Regions from separate parts of the Homo sapiens genome. Here region 2 is linked to region 1. Evidence: promoter capture Hi-C in human tissues and cell types (Jung and others, 2019). All regions are on one chromosome and are shown on one strand. Each heading gives the region's core, a stretch centred on a gene start or on the middle of the fragment in contact. The rest is flanking DNA. Distances are from core to core; before and after follow the strand shown. Region 1 holds the start of MOS (MOS proto-oncogene, serine/threonine kinase). Region 2 has its middle 26 kb from the start of CHCHD7.

What was found. The method cuts DNA at HindIII sites, captures the fragments that hold promoters and counts their contacts. A contact is called where the count stands out against the background at its distance.
Region 2: a contact is called between a fragment that was not itself captured here and the fragment with the promoter of MOS in region 1, in 2 of the 25 tissues and cell types used here (heart left ventricle and hippocampus).

Annotation. Positions count from the first base shown.
Region 1 is chr8:56,109,030-56,116,984 of GRCh38, forward strand. It overlaps MOS (MOS proto-oncogene, serine/threonine kinase), which reads right to left and starts at 4,953. Exons shown (of 1, transcript NM_005372.1): 1 at 3,913-4,953. The coding sequence starts at 4,953. The coding sequence ends at 3,913. RefSeq lists an enhancer at 4,332-4,832. The HindIII fragment of the contact is 8,406 bases long and covers 586-7,955 here.
Region 2 is chr8:56,234,202-56,242,156 of GRCh38, forward strand. No RefSeq gene overlaps it. Among named protein-coding and RNA genes, the nearest start is that of CHCHD7, 26 kb to the left of the region's middle. The HindIII fragment of the contact is 3,600 bases long and covers 2,009-5,608 here.

The DNA.
Region 1 (7,955 bases), core at 3,703-6,202:
TTCTATACTTGTAACTTCCTTTTCTAACAGTTACAAATCCTGGCTCCCATTCTCCTTGATGTATTTTCTTACTTGTTTAATCCTTCTGTATATGACTAATGTCCCCACCATATTAGCCAAGTATCTCATCCTCCAGCCCTGCTATCACCAAACATGCAGTCTGTGGCTGTGTCAAAGGGAATATTTTATCTTTTTCAATGGTATTGTAAAAAGAATCTTTCTTTTATAAATTCTAGCTGATTTTTGTTTACATAGTTGAAGTCTGCTTATTTCTGTATGTTAATTTTATATCCTGCAAACTTACATAATTATTTTGTTTTAGTTTTTCTATTGTCTTGTGTTTCTTTTCCAAGTATACATCCTGAAAATAGAATCTGCAAACAGAATTTGTTTTTCTTCTCTCTTTACAGTTTTAGACCTCAAGTTTAATTTTCTTTTTAAATATCACTGACCAATAAAACGTTAAATCATAATAGCAGTAGTGGGCATTCTTACATTATTCATGACTTTAGTGGAATGATTTCCTGTTAATATGGTAGCTATTGGGCTGAAATGTGTGGTGTTCTATACATTTTTAAGTTTTTATTTTGAAATAACTTTAGACATAGAAGAATTGCAGACAGTACATAAAATTCTTGTATAACATATCCTTTATTCAGTTTTCCCTATGTTATATAATCATGGTATTAATACATTTAAAAAAATAAGAAATATAAGAAATTAACATTAGTTATGTATTTTTTTTTAAAAAAGTGGGTTAGGTAAATATCTATTCCTCCTTCTTTTGAGTCTCTTTTTAAAAACCCGGAATGAACATTTAATTTTGTCAAATGTATTCTCAGCATATGTTCTTACTCTTTTAACCTGCTAATATGATGAAGTAAGTCAATAGATTTTCTAATATGAAACTATTTTTGCATCTTAGAAGAAATCCACTTGATTAAAAATAACGTGCATGATTATAAAAATTAACTCTTAGATTCTGTGTGCTAATATTTACTTAGGACACTGATAATTTTTTACACTGATAGTTTTAAACAAGATTGACCTGTCGTTTCTTTTTTAAAAGCAGTCTTTATGGAGTTTTGATGTAAATGTTATTCTTTTTTTTTTGAGACGGAGTTTCGCTCTTGTTGCCCAGGCTGGAGTGCAATGGCGCCATCTCAGCTCACCGCAACCTCTGCATCCCGGGTTCAAATGATTCTCCTGCCTCAGCCTCCCAAATAGCTGGGATTACAGGCATGTGCCACCACGCCTGACTAATTTTCTATTTTTAGTAGAAATGGGGTTTCACCATGTTGGCCAGGCAGGTCTCGAACTCCGGACCTCAGGTGATCCACCCACCTTGGCCTCCCAAGGTGCTGAGATTACAGGCGTGAACCACCGCGCCCGCCCGTATTATCTTGCTTAATACTTATCTTTGCACTGTTAAGTATGCCTTTACCTCTGACTTGATGTGTATGTCAAAGAGCATACTTTGACTCTTAGCTGCTACAGAGGGAGCAGTCATGCACCTGTTCTACCTCTCACCAGGGTGGTTTTCCAACAACTCAGACTTCTTTCATCTGTTTGTTTCCTTCCAATATGGCATTTCTGTGGATTTCTTCATGCAGCCACAACCTTCTTTCTCTCCAAAGCAAACCGGGCCCAGAAGGCTTCTGTGCCTGTCCAGTATTCCCTGCCCTGTCCCCAGGGTGACCCCCTCCTGTCCAGCAGCTGAATTTTGCTGCCAATTTCTGAGCTCTGCATGGCTGGATCCTCCGTAACACCTGCTCTTCCTTCTTTTTCTACCAACTCCTCTAACCTCAGCACTGTTTGATCTCATTCCTGTTCTCTGATTTCTTCCCCAACATTTGCACTTCCTAGTGGGCTCCTGTTCTCCAGGGCCCCTAATTTTGCAGGTCTCTCTGGGATCTGTCACTGCTGGGTCCCTTGGTCCCCACCCCCTTGCCCTGACGCCAGCCACCCCTTATCCTTTCTGCTCTCTTTCCTTAAGGCTCCATTCAATCTTTAGTTATCACATTTTAGAGTTTGTTTTCTCTACCCCAGATTCACTGATTATGGAGCCTACAGTGTTTATTCCCCCTTCTTCATCTTGTCATTCTATGTGGTCTCCAGGTGAAGGGAAGATACTATTGTAATTTAAACTTACCAACATGAACTCCTATTGCCACAATAGTCAGAGAAGGGGGCTGGGCACAGTGGCTCAAGCCTGTAATCCTAGGACTTTGTGAGGCTGATGTGGGGGGATCACTTGAGGTCAGGAGTTCAAGACCAGCCTGGCCAACATGGTGAAACCTCGTCTTTACTAAAAATACAAAAATTAGCCAGGTGTGGTGGCACGTGCCTGTAATCCCAGCTACTGGGGAGGTGGAGGTTGCAGTGAGCCAAAATTGTGCCACTACACTCCAGCCTGGGTGATGGAATGAGACCCCATCTCAAATAATAATAATAATCAGAGAAGGGAATTCTTTATCGGTATAGGTGGTTTGTTCCCCCAACTACCTGGACAGAGTTAGCAGCACTCTGTCAGTGTTTTACATGGCCACAGACAGCTCCCTTTTGCTTTTCTGAAGAACAGTTTCAAACCATGTTCTCACTCTGTAGACTCCCCTACCCTCAACCACTCTTAACAGAAAAAAAATAGAAGTTCACAGATGTGTGCTTCCCCAGTCCCCTTTTTCCTAGGGTAAATGTGTCTATAATACCAGTGTGCCCCCACCCTTGGCTCCCATCCTGGGAAGAGATGCCCTTTCTCTCCAAGATGACAATCTCTTCCCCTAGGTACTATGCTTCATCCCTTCTACAAGTATCTAAACTTTATCAATTATCTTTGCCTCTGGTGGCTCATTTTACAAATAAAATTATTTCTTTCAACCTAAAACTAAATGATACCAGATAAAAAATCTGAAAACATTTCTGTGTCTCTGACCCCCTTTTAAGCTTCCTGCCTCTCCCTCCTTAACAGTGCATGCACAGCCTCTGCTTCAGGGCCTTGCCATTCCCTCTGCCAGCCATTGCATCAGCCTTGCTTTCCACCATGCACAGAAACTGCTATTGCTAAAAGAAAGTCAAAGCTGTCCCAATGACAAAATCCAATCACCTTCTCCTTTAAATCCTATGTACCAACATCCATTGTTTTGATGTCTAGAGTGGGCAATCTAGTTCTATTTGTCTGTTCTCTTCCATCCAAATGTTAAATTTCATGATTCCTGACATCATATAATCTTTACCTTCTACTCCTACATTTTCCTCTCACATCATATAATCTTTATCTTCTACTTCTGAGTCCCAATACCAGGTAAAAATGACCCAGTTTAGAAGTGTTTTAGCAAAATGTTTCTACTCATTGCAATGCACAAGTTAAAGATATTACAATAAGTCATTTATGATATAATTCCTTTGAATGTAAATGTACCTCAGTGTATGACTTTTATGAGTGAAGGTCATTACAAACAAGAAGTTTTACTGGGGGGAGTAGTAGGAAAGCATTACTTATTTTTTTAAAAGTTTTTACTGATTTGGTGTGGGAGCAACTACACCATTAATAGTTGGAATTTATGTGGTAGGTATGGGATATATATGGATTTATAGAAAATTTTGACATTTCTGCAGTGGAGTTCTATTTTGGACAAACTTTTATCAATAACAAATTTAAATAAATGAAATACTAGCAATGGAAAGCAAAGCACATGACTATATGAATAAGATTAGTTACTAACAGTACTGAGACAACAGGTACTAGACTTGTAGCTTTGCTAATGTGTCCTAGAAAAAGCACTGGAGACTAAAGGAGTTTTTAGTAACTTTATTTTCTAAAACTCCATCCTACAAATATGTTTTCTTCGACATCTCCACTTCCTTTAAAAACAAATAGAATCAGACAAAAACTTATCTTGACCAGGTTTTCAGTCAGCCGAGTTCAGCTTTCAAAGAGGTGAGATCCACCAAAAGCAGCCGCGCGCTCGGCCTCTGCGCCGCGCTGGGTCTCCAGCAGCGCTGGATGACGTCCCCAAGGCGCTGCCCGGGGAGCGAGTCCTCGAAGACGGCAGCGGAGAGGGACGGGCGCAGGTCGTAGGCCACCACCGCGTACAGTATGTGCTGCCGCTCCCCCGAATACGGCGCCTGCTTGGTAGTCATTTGCCAGAGAGTGATGGCAAAGGAATAAATGTCGGCTTTAGGCGTCACGCCCTCTCCTTTCAGGAGCTCCGGGGCGCGGTGGGTGTATGTGCCTCCTAGAGGGTAAGAGGGTGTCTGGAAGCACAGCAGATCTTCCAACTTCTCAGAGCAACCGAAGTCACTAATTTTACAGACATCCTGCTCACTGATCAAGATGTTCGCGGGCTTCAGGTCCAAGTGCACAATGCTTTGCGAGTGGAGGAAGAGCAGGCCGTTCACAACATCTAGTGAGTACTTGAGACACTTTCCCAAACTTAACTGTCCTCCAGTGCGGCAGTGAGGCTCCCCTGCGTCCCCCTCAGGGTGGCCGGCGGCGCCATAGATGACTTGGTGTAAAGTGACGTTGCCACCGAACTCCATGATGATGGTCCCTAGGCTATTGGACCCTGCGGGCGTGCGCGTGCTGGCAGCCACCACGCGCACGATGTTATCGTGGCGCAGCCTTGCTACGTTGAGCTCAGCCCAGAAACTCCGCCGAGATGCTAGTCGGTTCTTGGTGCACTTGTTCACTTGCTTTATGGCCACAGGAACACCGCGGTAAGTCGCCTTGTACACCGAGCCAAACCCTCCAGCTCCCAGCCTCTGCAGCAAGCACACCTGCTCCCAGTCAATGGAGCACCAGGCCAGCCGGCGCGGCAGCCGCGGGGCCCGAGGAAGAGTGGCCCCCAGAAGCAGCTTCGCAGGTAGCTCTGAGGGACTGCTGCAGGGCCGCGCGTCCACCGATGGGGAAAACTCGCTCCGGAGGTAGGGGCGTAGGGCCAGGGGCGAGGGCATCGCACTTTGCAGGGGGACACCAGGGCCGCTGGAGTGAATGAAGAGACTAGGGGAAACCGCGGGACTTTGGAAACATGACTGACTACTCCTTCGCTCCACCTCATCCCTTTTCTCCTTTTCCTTCACTTGTTCCAAATGAGCTACATCTGTGCTGTCACTCAGCAAGAGTTTTTATCAGATGGAGGGAGAAACCGGAATGAAGCACAGCTATCCCTTTCAGATGAAAGCATTTCCCTTCCACACTTGAAGTGAATTCTTATAAAAACAAGCTCATGCCAGACAAACAGCATGGAGCTGCCTCAGAACTCACCCCTCTTTTACATTATTTCTTAAATTATAATAAAATACGTTTTTTTCAAGTCTCATCCGCTGCACATTATCAGTCCTCAGACTAAAGAGACCACAAAGCACAATGAAATTGTTTCACACTTTGCAGGCTGTAATGATTGTTAGTGTCATTCTCCAGCTGCATTAAATCACTTCCAGCAGGTATTGGCTAAGAGTTAAAATGCAAACAGCAGACATTTGTTTAACCAATTACAGGGAAAAACTAGGTGCAACATTCATATGGATAAAAAATTGCAACCTTAATCAATCCAAATAGAATCACTGATACAGGTCATAACACACACCTAAATTCATCAGTGGAAAGGAGAATCCCCTGACACTCTATGCAGCTTACACAGCAAATTAGCAAGACATCTTAGCAACATACTGACTTCCTAACAATCCTTCCCTTCCAAGGCGATTTGGCCCAACCGGTCAGCTCACTTGCAAGAGAGATTCTAGACTTCGTAGCAAATGAGTTACCGAAGTTTTGAACCAGAGTTGGGGGAGACAAAAGAATAGAAATGATTCAGAGCTGTGATCAGGGCTTCAAATAATAACACATATGGGAGAATTGTAGAAGAGGAAAAATCTGAAGAAATAAAAATGGCACAAAATCACTGGTACCTACATATAATGTAGAAAACCAGAAGTTGGAATGAAATTCAGGGTATTGGCCATCAGACAATAAGATCTTTCTTTCTGATTTTTATAATGAAAATTAATTTTCTACCAAGTGCAGTGAGTTATGCCTATAATACCAGTGCTTTGGGAGGCTAAGGTGGAAGGGCCACTTGAGGCCAAGAATTTGAGACCTGCCTCTACAAAAAATAATAATAAAGTTAGCTGAGTGTGGTGGTGCACTCCTATAGTCCTAGCTACTTTGGAGGCTGGGGCGGGAGGAGACTTGAACTGAGGAGTTTGAGGCTATAGTGAGCTATGATCGTGCCACTGCACACCAGGCTGGATGATGGAGCAAGATCCTGACTCTAAGCAAAAAATTAATTTCATACCATATCTTTGGAAAAAGGACCAATAATATTACCATATTCATGAGAAAACACACACACACAAAAGTGTTAGGATCTATATTTTAAAAAATCAAATGGTAAAGTTCCCTTCTTCTAAAGCACTTATGTGTTAGGTTATGTGTAACCACATTTTAATGATAGCAGTTCTGTTTTTGAAGTATATTGACTTTGAGAAGGTAAATTAATAAACATGAACCATTTACAGAAACAATTTGAGGTCTGTGAAGCCCTGGAATAGGATTTCTATTCTATACAACCTGTGTGGCTTAGTATGTGATCTAGTGTGTGTATAATATTTAACCTGCTTGAGCCTCAATCTTTTTTTTTTTTTTGAGACAGAGTTTCGCTCTTGTTGCCCAGGCTGGAGTGCAATGGCACGATCTCCGCTCACTGCAACCTCCGCCACCTGGGTTCAAGCGATTCTCCCGCCTCAGCCTCCCGAGTAGCTGGGATTACAGGCGCATGCCACCATGCCCAGCTAACTTTTGTATTTTTAGTAGAGATGGGGTTTCACCATGTTGGCCAGGCTGGTCTCAAACTCCTGACCCCAGGTGATCCACCTGCCTCAGCCTCCCAAAGTGCTAGGATTACAGGCGTGAGCCACCATGCCTGGCCAACTCTATGGAATATTTTAGTAGAAAGATTGTTGTGTGCAATTGTGTCAAACCCCAAATATAAAAGGATGCCAATGAATAGAGAAAAAGTAATACAATTATATTCTATAATAAATCTACATTGCAAAATTTACTCAGTAACTGTCACCTAGTTAGGATTATAATTCAGGGCTCTGAAATGGTTATATAATAGGAGTGCTGTGAATATTAGCAGAATGAGAGTGCCTTAACCCCCTAGATATTACACATAATGCAAGATAATGTGACTTATTATATAATCTTTATTTTTAAGATAATTGCATACACAATTCATTTTCAAAGTTGGTTTTACTCTTTACCCAAAACATAAGGTATTAGTGAAAATGTGGCATTCTGTGTATTTATAAACCCCAAGTTCATTAGATCTATCATCTGCCAATCTGCCCAAGAATATTTAATTGAATATCCAATTTACAACAGCCTTTGTTTTCTTTTTTAAGGTATCTTAAAATATTTCTTTTACTCAGCAAATTGCACTTACCCTGAAAGCAGGATTTATCTCCCTATTGATTTTTTCTCCCCGTAACACAGTGCCAAACATATTTCTTATTATGTTCTTACTTTAATTTTGCTTTTTTCTTTTTGAGACAGCGTCTCACTATGTCACCCAGGCTGGAGTGCAGTGGTGTGATCTTGGTTCACTGCAACCTCTGCCTCCTTGGCTCAAGCGATCCTCCCACCTCAGCCTCCCAAGTAGCTGGGACCACAGGCACACACCACCACACCCAACTATTTTTGTATTTTTTTGTTGAGATGGGGTTTCACCATGTTTTCCAGGCTGGTCTTGAACTCCTGAGGTCAAGCGATCTGCCCGCCTCAGCTTCCCAAAATGCTAGGATTACAGGGCACTGTGCTTGGCCCTTAACTTTAATGTTTAATCCTGATTTGGTTACCAAATATGTGTGCACTATGTAATATTTTGGATCTCAAAAATGGGTAAAGCTTTAGCATGGTGGTAAAAGGCTATTAGGGGCCAGATGGCCTGGGTTTC
Region 2 (7,955 bases), core at 2,559-5,058, 120 kb after region 1:
CAGTGGTGTGATGTCGGCTCACTGCAACCTCCTCCTCCCAAGTTCAAGCGATTCTCCTGCCTCAGCCCCCGGAGTAGCTGGGATTATAGGTGCATGCCACCAGGCCCAGCTAATTTTTGTATTTTTAGTAAATATGGGGTTTCACCATGTTGGCCAGGTTGGTCTCAACCTCCTGACCTCAAGCGATCCACCTGTCTTGGCCTCCCAAAGTTCTGGGATTTCAGACATGAGCTATCGCACCCAACCTGCAAATATTTTCTCTCATTCTGTAGGTTGTCTGTTTACTCTGTTGATTATTTCTTATGCCGTGCAGAGTCCTTAATTACGTCCCATTTCTCTATTTTTGTCTTTGTTGCATTTGCTTTTGGGGTCTTCATTATACCTTCTTTGCTTGGGCTAACGTCCAGAAAGATTTTCCTAGGTTTTCTTCTAGGATTTTATGATTTCAGGTCTTATGTTTAAGTTTTTAATTAATCTTGTTAACTCTATATTTTAATAAGACATTAATATCTACTTTTTAAAAACAAAATGAATGTACTTAAACATGATAATTTCTTCTATCTTTCATATTTCTAAGGAATTTTAATTATAATTTTATTTAGTTATAATATAATTTTTAGAAATTATCTTCATTTTTACCTATACAAAATTATCCTTTTTTGGGGTCCTCCTCTTTATAAGCTGCTTATTCTGGATAAATCATTCTAGGTTGAGGGTCTTTTTGTTTTTGTTATTGTTTTGGTACTGTGAAGTTGTTATACAATAGTTTCATAATTTTTCTCTTCTTGTTTAGGAGAAATCTGTCTGTCTAGCTGTTATTCCTTTATAGGTAGCCTGTATTATTTCTTGGGATATATTTAGACTCTTTTTTTTTGTATTTTGTGTTTTTAGTTTCTTGTTGATTTGTCTAGGTATGTATTTCTTTAGGCTTCTTGAATTTAAAAATTTGTATCTTACATTAATTTTTAAAAATTAAACTTCATCGTTATCCTTTAACATATTGTGCATCCCTTATTCAGTCTTTATTTTGCTTCTAGAAATGTAGAAAGTTCTCTATCCTCAAGTGTTTTAACTTCTCATATTTCCCTATTCCTTATGTCTCTGAGATGTAGTCTTGGTATTTCTTCAACAGATGCAGTCTTGGTATTTCTTCAACTCTACCTTCCAATTTGCTTTTTTCCTCATCTGTGGCTAATCTGCTTTTTAAATTGTCCATTTAATTATTACTTGTAATTATTCCACATTTTAACTACTAGAAGTTTTCTTTGATTCTTTGCTTGATATTCTTGCTTATTTCATAATCTCCCATTCTTTATTCATATGTTTAATCCTGTAGATCAGGGGTCCTCAATCCCTGTGCCACGAACTGGTACCGGTCCGTGGCTTGCTGGAAACTGGGCCACACAGCAGGATGTGAGCAGAGGGCGAGTGAGCAAAGCTTCATCTATATTTACAGCTGCTCTCCATCACTTGCATTACTGCCTGAGCTCCATCTCCTGTCAGATCAGAGGTGGCATTAGAGTCTCATAGGAGTGCTGTGTATGTGAGGGATCTAGGTTGCATGCTCCTTATAAAAATCTAATGGCTGATGATCTGTCACTGTCTCCCATCACCCCCAGATGAGACCGTCTGGTTGCAGGTAAACAAGGTCAGGGCTCCCACTGATTCTACATAATGGTGAGTTGTATAATTATTTCATTATATATTATAATGTAATAATAATATAAATAAAGTTCACAATAAATATAATGTGCTTGGATCATCCTAAAACCATCCCCTACCCTGGTCCATGGAAAAATTTTCTTTCATGAAACCGATTCCTGTGCCAAAAAGGTTGGGGATCACTGCTGTAGGTAGAACATCATGTAGATCTTTAATTTAAATCTATTAATCACACATATATATGTGATTCCATGTATGAAGTTCCCAGTTTTTAATATTTCTGCAGATCTTATTCTCTTGCCTATTGTTTCATGTGGTTTGCATGCAGTGGTGTCCTGTTCTAGTTTGTGTTTGGTGGTTTTTGATTATGAATATGTTCTTTAGAACTTTATCTGTAAGACTTCTTTGTAAATACATTTCTCTCGAGAGGATATGCTTTTTAATAATTTGGGAACATTTAATATGAATTATTGGCTATTAATTTTTAGGGAAACATTGATAGTGGGAACTTGAGAAACACACCTATAAGTGGGCCTATTGCTAATTTTGCATTTTTTGGAAATTCTTTTTCTTCTCCATCCACCAGAAAGATGAAGAAAAGAACATTTTCTTTATGTGAATAAAACCAACAACAATGAATAGGGATACAGATTCATACAGTCTGATTCCCAAAAAAGGGGAGTGGAACCCCACGATTTGATCACTTCCCCTTCCTTGAATGATCTCACAAATTAAGTTACAGGTCTCAATTCTCTAGAAAAAGGGACTTAGATATTATATCCTCCCAAATCCAAATTTCCTGCTCAGGAATGCTCAAACTTTTGAATTGACAAGGAATCACTTTCGTTTCATGGGACTGTTATGAATGACAGAAGAGCTTGAGAGACCTGGAAAGGCTGGAGCCACATGTATGGAAGCTTCCCAATGATTATGAAAGGCTTACTGATGGTGCAGAAGCCTGAGACCACGAGATTCAGAAAATCACATTCTTTTTGTCCTAAGGATGCTTTGGACCTGATTTAAAAAAACCTCATATGGTTTTTGTGAGAAAATACTGCAAGGGGCTCTGTGACTGATTCTTTTGCTGTCTCTCTGGATCCCAAGGCTTTGAAGAGAGGAGTCTTTACACAGAGCGGGGGGACCTGCAAAACCTTAGTTCTCATCTAGCTTTGGCAGGGTAAAGGGATTAGCCAGGTGCTGAAGGTGGCTTACTGCAAGGCTGGCACAGGCCTGATCATGTGCTCATTCTTCTCCACCACATGGTAAAGTGGAAACTACTATCACCATGTCAGATAGCAAAGGTGATCTTTATTCTTGCCAATAGTTACAATGAAGAAAATTATCTTCCATCATGAGAGTACCTCTTAATTCCATCTTGTCTATCTGGGCAAATCTAGAAAAGAGGCATGCTGAATGTCTATAGAAAAGAACTGGCTTTTTAATTTAACATATTAGTTTGAATTCAAAACATGTACAAGGTGCTGTGATGCAATGGCTTTCTAACTGTCCAAATTTCCAGAATGCACTCTGGTGGAAATATAGCCCCCAGAAGAATAAATATGTAGCCTTGTTCTCCTACTACCATTGCAAAAACAGTTGAATGGAATGCTTGTGCCTGAAGAGTTGTCTGAGATTGTATTCACCAGGCAGTTTAGAGAAGGACGCACATCAGGGAGGCAGGGGATATCCATCTTGGCCCCCATTTCAGCGTGGTGCAATGACTCCAGGACTGCAAAGAATCTCATTGTACAAGACCTACCTAAGCTTACAGGCAGTCCCAGAGATGTGAACAAGGATGAAGTGTGTGAATCAATGTCAGAAGTGAAATATGCCCATGACTTCAATAACAGCACCAGATACCAGCTCATGAATGACTGGTTAGAAGTGTTTTATGGATGAGATGCATGGTGGTGATATACCCAATCAGACATTCAGGAAGTGAGTCTGTTGTGTCATTTTGTGTGACCTTTGACAAGCCACTTAACTAGTCTGGCCTTTACTTTTCTCAAGTGGGACTTGTTCATCAACCCTTCCTGTCTCACTCTGAAGTGCTCTGATCTCTATTCTAATCCGTCAAATAGATTCGTAGACCATGCTTTGAGAACCATTGATATAGTAATCTAAAAAACTGACTGTACTTAATTTCCCAAGCCTTTGAAAGTATAAAGGAAGAAAAGCTTACTCACTGCCAGAATTTGGTTACAGAGGAATTTAATTATAGCATTTGGGCATGTGTCATTTAACCATAGCTGTTAAGAGTCGTGGTCAACTGTTTTATTAAGTCATTTATCGTCTTCAGCAACTACCAGTCTGTAATTACCTTAATTCTATTCCACCAGTTTGTGTGAAGGGAGTCCTGTTCTTTTGTCCTCTGCATCCAAACCCTAAAATAAATCATGATCATCATACTTACATTCTGTTGAGTTTAAAAAATTTTCCACTCCTGATTTTCTGTTATCTGATTTCTACTTTTCCTAGCGTTAGAATAATAGAATCATAATGTTTCAGAACTAAAGGTGATTTTAAAAATTATTTAATCTCACCTCCCTTTTACTCTATTGAAAATTGAGAACAGGAAAGATTTAAAAATTTAGAAAGGCCTACAGCTGGTTAGTGATGGAGTCATGCTTACTATCAGGTGCCCAACCCTGCAGGTTATGGAAATGCCTGCAGATTTCCATTTCAGTGAGGCCCACAATTTCAGTGAGGCCCAGGAGGCTCTAGTTCAACCAGAAGGCAGAACCCAATCTAATCTGATTTGAGAGATTTGGATATAGCCACCTGATTTATAATGCCCAGGCAGAGAAACACAGTGTACAGTAGAATGTGGGCAGCCAGCTGAAGATGGTGTGGAAAAGGGGGCATAAAGATAAAGTCAGGGGCACTTGTTAGTTACTCTAGGGATGAGCTACAGTAGAAGTAGTTTAACTGAGATTAAACATTTGGATGTTTTGCAAATGCTAAAATATTCAGGCAGGCACTTTAGAATGCATTTTGCCCAAATCTCTACTTCTGTTTTTTTAAAAAAATGTGAATGTGTACAACATCATTTCAATTTGCTTTACCCAAAAAAGCAAATGACAGAATGTTTTTACTGTGATTCATTCACTCATTAATTCAACGAATGTTTGTTGAGCCCCTACCAAGTGCCAAGCACGAGGGGCACACATCTGCCGAGATCAGATGGAAAGGGGACAAGAAAAACTGGAGAACCCAAGTCTCCAGTCAAGAGATGATGGAGGCCTGGAGCAGAGGGTGCAAGAGACACGTGACTTAGAGACAGGGGAAGAAACCTGTAGACAGGTGATACCTGGAGAACAGGGAGGAGGATTATGGGTGATTTCATTTTTTTTTAAAAATTTTCTAGTTTTTTGTGCACAGTGGTGCTTTGTTAATAAAGTAATAACAGGATTTTGGCCTGGAATGATGATGTTGCTACGATTTTTAAAATGGATTATTTTTTGTTTTGAAAGAATTTAAAATTTATAGAAGTGTTGCAAGAATAATGCAAAGGACTTTCAAATACGCTCTGCTCTGATCCACCAGTTGTTAACATTTTGCTACATTTGCACATTCTTTTTCTTTTTTTCCTCTCCTCCTACACATATAATTATATATTTTTTCTGGACCACTTGAGAGTACATCGCCCTTTACTCCTAAATACTTGAAGTGTATATTTCCTAGGAACAAGGACACTTGGCTTATGTAACTATGTACAATGATCAAAATCAGGAAGTTTTATGTTGATATATTAGTATTGTCTAATATATAGTCTTTATGAGAATTTTGCCAACTGTCTCAGTAATGTCCTGTATAGCAATTTATTTTTCTGGTCAAAGAGCCAGTCCAGGATCACATATTGCATTTAGTTTTCATGTCTTTTTCATTTCCTTTATTCTGGATCAAGTGATCCATTTTTTTTTTTTTTTTTTTTTTTGCCTTTCATGTTTGGCAATTTTGCAGAGTACAGGTCATTTATTTGTAGAATTTCTGTTAATTTGAGTTTATCTGTGATTTCCTCATCATTGGATCTAGGTTTAAATAACCTGGAGTTTTTTAGCCATAGTACTATCTAAATGCTGTTGTGTCCTTCCCAGTGCACTGTATCTAGAGGCACATGATGTGGTATGTTAATATCACTGATAAAGTTAATTACTGGTGGTACTAATTTTAAGGTAAGACTACATATTTTAAATGGTAGATTCTTTTGTTTTCTTTGGCTCAAAGTAGTGTCACTGTTAAACAGTGTTTTAAAATTATCTATTTAAATTAATATGGGCTCACATTTACCCCACAGTAAGTTACACATATCTCCAGAGAAAAGGGGTGTGCACATAATTGCTATGTCAGGCTAGGTTATTACAATACAAAAGCAGGTTAAGTATAAGTCAATCCTGACATAAGCAGGGATAACTTGTTTTCAGATTCTGGATGTGCTTATTTTCTAGGGAGTTATTTGGATGTTTTTCTCATCTGTTGACTAAATCTATGAGCCAAATGTAAGTTGTAGCATTTGGGGATATTATGTACACTTTCGACCTTCTCTTTATCAAAAAGACCAAAAATAATTGCAAACTTTGGCAAGGATGCAAAGAAGAGGGAACTCTTATCCACTGTTGGCGGGAATGCAAACTAGTACAGCCACTATGAAGAACAATATGAAGGTCCCTAAAAAAACTACAAATGGGACTACCATATGATCCAGCCATCTCACTATTGGAAACTTATCCAAAGGAAAGGAAATCAGTATATTGAAGAAACATCTGCACCTCTATGTTTATTGCAGCACTATTCACAATAGCCAAGATATGGAATCAACCTAGGTGTCCTACAACAGGTAAATGGATAAAGAAAATATGAATATATATGCCATGGAATACTATTCAGCCATACAAAGAATGAAATCCTGTCTTTTGCAGCAACAAAGATGAGCCTGGATAACATTATGTTAAGTGAAATAAGCCAAGAATGGAAAGCTGAACGCCACATCTTCTCATTTATATGTGGAAACTAGAAAATGGTTGATGTCACGGAAGTAAAAAGTAGAACAGAGGATACTAGAGGCTGGGTAGAGTAGAGAAAAGGGAGGGATAAGGAGAGAATTGTTAAAGGTTATAAAATTACAGCTAGATAGGAGGAATAAATTCTAGTGTTCTGTACCACTGTAGGATGACTGTTGTAAACAATAATGTATTAATTAGATAGTTTCAAGAGCTAGAAAGAGGATATTGAGTGTTTTTAACACAAAGAAAGGATGAATCTTTGAGGTGATGGATATGCAAAATCCCCTGATCCTCATGAGCACCATACATTATTTGTCTCAAAACATCATTAGGTACTCCAGAATATATACAATTATTATTTATCAATTTAAAATATTAAATTAAAAATTAAAAAAGAATATATTCAAAAGTAGAACAGAGGATAACTAGAGGCTGGGAGGGGTAGAAGGTAGGGAGGGATAGGGAGAGATGTGTTAAAGGTTATAAAATTACAGCTAGATAGGAGGAATAAATCCTAGTGTTCTGTACCACTGTAGGATGACTGTTGTAAACAATAATGTATACTTTAATCTATGATGGATCACTTCATAGTCATTCCTATTGGTAGCTATGAAGGAAAATGACCCATTTCTTTGGATCCGTGCTAAAATTTTATAAAATCTTTTGAGTTTTTGGAAGAAATATACTTTATTTGTATGAATCCATTTATAAGCTTCTCAGTATCTGAAAATTTTTCTTCAAAGATGTTGATAGACTAATGCTTGACTTTTCTACAAAAAAGCCATTGGATCTCTCTGGCATCTTTGCTTTTGAACTAATCATGCCAAAATATGATTTGCCTATAAGCATGTGAGCTGTTTTGTTTTAATAATATTTTAGCCGTGGCTGAGCCACTGTGGATTTGAAAGAAACAGGCCAAATACTTGCTGCAGAATGGGCCTTGCAATTCTTTCCTTTGGGTGTGAAATGGTTCTCTTTTAAAAGAATTTGCAGTAAATCAGATTTGCTAGTCATTTTACATTCCCAAGAACAACAAGATTGAGTGAGGGAAAGTGGATAGAAATAGCATTTCAGGAACACCAATGTTCAGGGCTTAGATGGTGCAAGGAGGGGAGTTTGGCTGGGACATTTGCTATTTCCATTGCTGTGAATCAATTCTTTGGAACCTTGTGGAGTTCAGCATGATGAAGCCGCAATGCTGCCGAAGGCTGAAAACAGCAGTGGCTCCATGCTGCTATCTGGTGGTATACTGCTGCATTGCCTCCCCCAGTAAGTCCTAATCTCCAGCTC